2 separate regions of the Homo sapiens genome follow, and region 1 is linked to region 2. Evidence: promoter capture Hi-C in 16 types of primary human blood cells and fetal thymus (Javierre and others, 2016). All regions are on one chromosome and are shown on one strand. Each heading gives the region's core, a stretch centred on a gene start or on the middle of the fragment in contact. The rest is flanking DNA. Distances are from core to core; before and after follow the strand shown.

Region 1 (3,174 bases), core at 13-2,512, 87 kb before region 2:
CGCATGGAGCCGCCGTGGCTGCCCCGGGATGATGATTTAAGTTTCCCCTCGCCCATCACTATATGCTTCTATGAAATGTTTTAAATTATTTTTATTCCTTCAGCATAATTATCAAATACATCTTTTATCTATTTTTTTCCTTATGACTTACAGATTCTGAGAGCTCAGAGCTATTTCCACTGCCTCACTTCTCATCCTCACTGCTTCTAGTTTTAAAATTAGGTCCTGGGTTGCTACCCCCGCTGAGGTTCTCACAATAATTAAAGCCTATTTGCTGGTTAAGGTTGCTTTGTTTTGGATACATACTTCTGTTCTTACAGTAATTACACAGCAGGGCAAATTACTCCTTGCATAAATATACACTTTAGAACAATGGAGTCATTTTAAAATATAGAAGGACACTTATCTTTCTACTTATTGTGGGAAAGATCATGGAAATGAAGATATAGTCATGTCTTAAACTGTATATTTTTTGTCCTCATGCAGGTACAAGGCTTTAAGTACATAATATATAATCAGTATCACTTTTTTTTTTTCTTTGAGACAGAGTTTTTTTGCTCCTGTTGCCAAGGCTGGAGGTGCAATGGCGCGATCTCGGCTACCTGCAACCTTCGCCTCCCAGGTTCAAGTGATTCTCCTGCCTCAGCCTCCCTAGTAGCTGGGATGACAGGCGCCCACTACCACGCCCAGCTAATTTTTTGTATTTTTAGTAGAGACAGGGTTTCACAATGCTGGCAAGGCTGGTCTCGAACTCCTGACCTCAGGCGATCCACCCACCTTGGCCTCCCAAAGTGCTGGGATTACAGGCATGAGCCACCGTGCCCAGCTCAGTATCAGATTTTTACAGAAGGACTGGCTAGAAAAAGAACAATGAAACAAGCAAAAGGTGTTACGTTGTGCTTAACTGCTTCCTGAGAAAAAAGAGCTTATCAGAATGACTACTAAGATGTCTTGTTGTAGAAACTGAATTGATTGCCCTGAAGGGAGTATTAAGGGATTAATAAAAATTAAAAAAATAAAAATAACTGAATTGAGAAACCCAAAAAATGGGCACTCCAGCCCATTTTAATAATAATTATTATTATTATTATTCAAGTTATGTTGTACATATTCGGTTTCAAAATTTAAAAATTTAAAAATTAAGCTTTATTAATTTGGTTCATCAATTTAAATTCTTGCTATGATTTGTAAGAACAGAAAAGTAGCTGGTGACAATCGTATGTTCAACATAAAAGGATTTTGTGTTAATGACATGGCTGCCTATCTCATTTGCAATGGAAATATCTTGTTTAAAGGACCTATACAGGTACTACAAGAGTATACATGTTTTAACATTAAATAGCTACTAAGAATAGCAAGAAAGAAAACAGAGCAAAATAAACAAGCTTCAGAAAAGTATTAGCAAACAACAATATTTGCTGAATAGCACTGGGTGCAGTGGCTCACACCTGTAATCTCAGCTCTTTGGGAGGCCAAGTTGGGAGGATCACTTGTAATTCAGGAGTTCAAGACTAGCCTGGGCAACACAGGGAGATCCCGTCTCTACAAAAACTAAAAAACTCAGCCAGACATGGTGGTGTGTGCCTATAGTCCCAGCTACTCAGGAGACTAAGGCAGGAGGATCACTTGAGTCTGGGAGGTCAAGCCTGTGGTGAGCTGTGACTGTGCCACTGGGCTCCAGTCTAGGAGACAGAGTAACACCCTGCTTCAAAAAAAGAAAGGAAGGAAGGAAAGGAAAGAAAGAGAGATGTGTTGCACAGTACAGCATTACATGGAAATACTGCAGTGGGTATGAAAATTATTAGGTGCTGAAATTTAAATTCTAAAAACAAAAAACATCTAAGTGTAGATAAAGTGTTTCTCGATAAAGATAAAATGGCTTAAAAATTTTAAGGCAGGCCGGGCACGGTGGCTCACGCCTGTAATCGCAGCACTTTGGGTGGCCGAGGCGGGCGGATCACGAAGTCAGGAGATCGAGACCATCCTGGCTAAGATGGTGAAACCCCGCCTCTACTAAAAATACAAAAAAATTAGCCGGGCATGGTAGCGGGTGCCTGTAGTCCCAGCTACTCGGGAGGCTGAGGCAGGACAATGGCGTGAACCTGGGAGGCGGAGCTTGCAGTGAGCCGAGATTGTGCCACTGCACTCCAGCCTGGGCAACAGAGCGAGACTCCGTCTCAAAAAAAAAAAAAAACAATTTAATGCAGTTCGGAAAAGATTTTTCTGGAGTTGACCCATATGCTGAAAAGGCTGCTCACCGCCGGCATGTACAGGGATTGGAGAAAACAGAAATGATGTGGGAAAAGATGTGGGCAAGAGCGGATCACTCTTCTGGATCTCAGAAATTTTAGAAAGCAAATACTGTGGGATGCAGTAGGAACAATTATCCGTTTATGGCAAGGCTGCCTGGGCAGTTTTTAAACAGGTAAGAATGAATTCTTATATTGCATAGGCCCTTAGGATACCATCTAGAAAGTTTAGTTGGTGGGAATAACATGAATTTAAAGTTTTTAAGCAGTTTTGATAAATTGAGTACAAAGGCTATTTTATACTACCACATTCTTCACAACGTCAGAGGAACTGCCCCAAGAAATTTATATGATTACTGATCTGAAGTTAGTTAGGTTAGTTCAGGTGTAAAGAGTGTTTATTTACTTATTTGAAAGGACATTAACTTGCAGCCAAAGGCCAAAAGGGCTTCTCTAGGGACATTCAGTTTAAAAAACATCTCTTTCATATACAGTATGTGCAGACTTCATGTTGGACACTAAAGATACCGGAGATACATGCACAGGACTTGGCCACCTAACTATGAAACACACAGTGTAGAAATGGAAAATAGGTGGCTTAGTGGCTCTTCAAACAGGAGAAATCTGAGGCCATATCCAGGTGTCTGATATAAACTAGTGATGCCTTACAAATAGGCATGGTGATATTTGTACTAGTTAATTACCTCTTTACTTTAGTACACTAATTTAGAAGTCTACTAAATTATTATAGAACAAGAACACATCACACTTCCGAGCAAAAGAAAAACATCAAATCCAAGTTGAGCAATTTTCTAAAACATATTATTATACAGCATATATGCTTAAGTACTACAATATACATATTCTAAGTTAGTACAGCTATCCCATCAACATTTCATGTGGGCTCAAGAATAAATACAAAACC
Region 2 (3,266 bases), core at 1-2,500:
TGTTGTTTTTGTTTTTTTGTTTTGTTTTTGTTTTTGAGACAAATTGAGGCTCTGTCACCTAGGATGGAGTGCAATGGAGCAATCTTGGTTCACTGCAACCTTCGCTTCTCAGGCTCAAGCCTTCCTCCCACTTCAGCCTCCCAAGTAGCTGGGACCACAGGTGCATGCATGCCACCACATCTGGCAAATTTTTGTATTTTTCATAGAGACAGGGTTTCCTCATGTTGGCCTGGCTGGTCTCAAACTCCTGAGCTCAGTGATTTCCCACCTCAGCCTCCTAAAATGTTAGGATTACAGATGTGAGCCACTGCATCCAGCCAAAATTTTAAAATTTAAAAAAATAATTTAAAATCTCCTGTCTCCATTAGGATGTCTCTCACACTACACCCTCCTTTTTTTTTTTTTAAATTTTTGAGATGGTGTCAAAAAATGACAGCCTCTGTCATTCAGGCTGGAGTGCAGTGGCGCCACCATAGGTCACTGCAGCCTCAAATTCCTGGGCTCCAGCGATCCTCCCACCTCACCTCCCTGGTGCCTTTTATTTTATTTTATTTTATTTTATTTTTGACCCTAAGTCTTGCTCTTGTCGCCCAGTCTGGAGTGCAATGGTGCGATCTTGGCTCACTGCAACTCCGCCTCCCAGATTCAAGCGATTCTCCTGCCTCAGCCTCCCAAGTAGCTGAGTAGTTGGGATTACAGGTGCCTGCGACCACGCCTGGCTAATTTTTGTATTTTTAGTAGAGACTGGGTTTCACCATGTTGGCCAGGCTGGTCTCGAATTCCTGGCCTCAAGTGATCCTCCCGCCTCAGTCTCCCAAAGTGCTGGGATTATAGGCGTGAGCCACCGCGCCCAGCCCCTGGTGCCTTCTTTAACACTGGGTGGGAAGAGAGTGTCCTGGCGAGGCCTCTGCACACCGACTGCATTTCCCAGATCCAAACTAATAACCTCCCTTGCCCCAGGCGCCTTCCAGGGCTGACATGCCTCCTCTCGCAAGTGGGGGAAACAGATGTCCCCGGGGGCTGGGGATAGGGGCGGGGGTGTGGGGAGGTGAGGGGCGAGGGGAAGGGGGGGAGGGGGGCGAAGGGGGCGGGGAGGAGGGGGAGCCGGCCGGGAGACGGCCCGGCCCAGCCGCCCGGGCTGTTGCCTCCGCTGCGGGCGTTCCTCCAGGCCTGCGGAGGGCGCTGCGGGCGCGGGGCTGGGCCGCTCTGGCTGGCGGGCGAGCAGAGAGGCGCCTCGGTGGCGGTGCGCTGTCCAGCATTTCAGCAAGCGGCGGCAGCACCCGCGGGGAGGCAGAGGGTGCGGGGCCGTGGGGGCCGCGGAGCTGCCCTGCCCAACTCAGCCCAGACTAGGCGGCAGCCCGGACCGGCGGGACCCGAGGGCCTGGCCCCAGCGCCCGGTAGATCGCGGCGGTCAGCGGTGAGGTGAGAGCGCCTGTGGGGCGGGGGCATATCCCCGAGGGGCTGGGGCTGGGTGGAAGCTCGGGCCTCCCCAGCACCCCCGTGGTCTGCAGGCTCCCCCGAGCAGAGGGGCAGTGTGGGAGGTCGGCGAGGGCGTCTGTCCGGGGGTGCCAGGCGCCCGGGGAGCAGAGATGAGGAACATTCATTTCACTGAGAGGGATGGAGACAGTGGAGACCTTTGGGGTCATGGGCAGGACTCCCCTGGGCATAAATGACCATGGCCTAGTCCATGAGGGTGCCAGGGAGGCCCCCCAACCGCAGTCCCACTGAGGAGAAGGACCTGCTCCCCAGGGAAGGGAGGACCGATGCAGTAACCCTGTGGAGATGCTGGTCACTGGCCCTGGTGAAGGGAGCAGGCCCCCACCTGGATGCTGGGCCTCTGTCCAGCAGGAGGTGCCGGCCCAGGGGACAGCCTGGCCCCTTTCCCGGCTACCCAAATGCCCCTAGGGAGGCAGGAGCTGGCAAGGAGAACTGGGTCTCACAGGATGGCATTTACTCTTGCACTGGGAAGAGGATGGAGGACACAGAAGAGAAAATAGCTACTAGGAATTTGGGAGGGGGTTCTCTGTGCACACCCCCCACCCCAACCACGGACGCCCAGAGAGAGTTTCTAGCCCAGAGTTAGACCTGCGCCAGAGTGAATTCCTGGTAAAGAAGAGAGCTGAGAAAAGACGCAGCCTCTGCCTTGCCTCCGCCTCCCCCTCCCTCCCAGGGCTCCTGCCTGGACAGTGTTGAAGCCTCCTGCAGTTCCTACTCCTGACAGCAGATCCATTGTGGGGAGAGATTTAGTGGGAGGAAGGGAAGGTTGTACCAAGGTCTGACGTGGTACTTCAATGCCTGTGCCCTATCCCAGCCATAACTTCTCGCTGTCCTAAGACCTCACTCACCCTAGCATCGGGGGCTTGAGCTGGTCTTTTGTCCCATGGCAAGAGAAAAGGCAGGTGCTGGGCTTTGACGGAGAGACGTGCACAAGTTCCTCTGTCCAGGGAGCATCTTAAGGTCATGGCCCCAGTTTGTGCCAGCTTCTTCCTCAGTCAAAAATAGGACCCAGCTGGCTAGGAAATTGTTCCCACACAGCAGTAGCTTTCTGGTTCCTTAACTTTATGCCCCATCCCACTCTCCTGTGGGGTGGAGGAGGTATTCTTGAAGACTGACTAAAGAGTCAACTGGGTTTTAAGAGGTAGGGGTATGTGGGTTGGGAGTCATGGACTCTGATGTCAGAAAGACATGGGATCAAATCTAGGTTATGTGACCTCAGGTAAGCCATTGACCTTTCTGAGTCTGTTTTCAATCTGTAAAACAGGTGTAGTGTTAGCAATGTCTACTTTGCTGTTGAAAGAAATAATCTGGATAAGGAGATGGGAGACTACTTTTACGGTATAAAATGCTGGGTGAGTGTTAGTAAATAGGAGACAAGTAAGAATTTCTTAAAGAAGAGCTGGATAAATGTGGAATAGTGTTCAGTGATATTTGAAGCACATTTTTCTGTTCCCAGAGGAGATGAACAGTGGTTGAGAGCCTCATGCCCAGCTCCATGCTGGGCACAATGCAACGGTTGACTCAGCTAATCCTCACAGAAGCTTCATGAGGAAGGCATCATTGTCCCTATTTCATAGCTGAGAAATGAAGCTTGAGTGACTTTCCCAAGGTCATGAAGCCACTCGCGCTGTCCTCCTGGAGGCAGGAGAGTTACTGATGACCTGTCCCATCCTCTGAGTATCAAGGCCCAGTTCAATGCCAGTGTCTTGATTTATGATGCCAGCTTTACAGGTGGGGAGCCTGAGGCAGGTGGGTGAGGGCATACAGTG

What was found. The method cuts DNA at HindIII sites, captures the fragments that hold promoters and counts their contacts. A CHiCAGO score of 5 or more calls a contact.
Region 1: a contact is called between a fragment that was not itself captured here and the fragment with the promoter of SRRM3 in region 2, in 2 of 17 cell types (M1 macrophages and megakaryocytes). The highest score is 8.2, in M1 macrophages.

The regions. Positions count from the first base shown.
Region 1 is chr7:76,113,423-76,116,596 of GRCh38, forward strand. It overlaps the pseudogene GRPEL1P3. Among named protein-coding and RNA genes, the nearest start is that of MDH2, 67 kb to the left of the region's middle. The HindIII fragment of the contact is 241 bases long and covers 1,143-1,383 here.
Region 2 is chr7:76,200,646-76,203,911 of GRCh38, forward strand. It overlaps SRRM3 (serine/arginine repetitive matrix 3), which reads left to right and starts at 1,251. Exons shown (of 15, transcript NM_001110199.3): 1 at 1,251-1,422. RefSeq lists a silencer at 1,098-1,337. The HindIII fragment of the contact is 9,812 bases long and covers 1-3,036 here.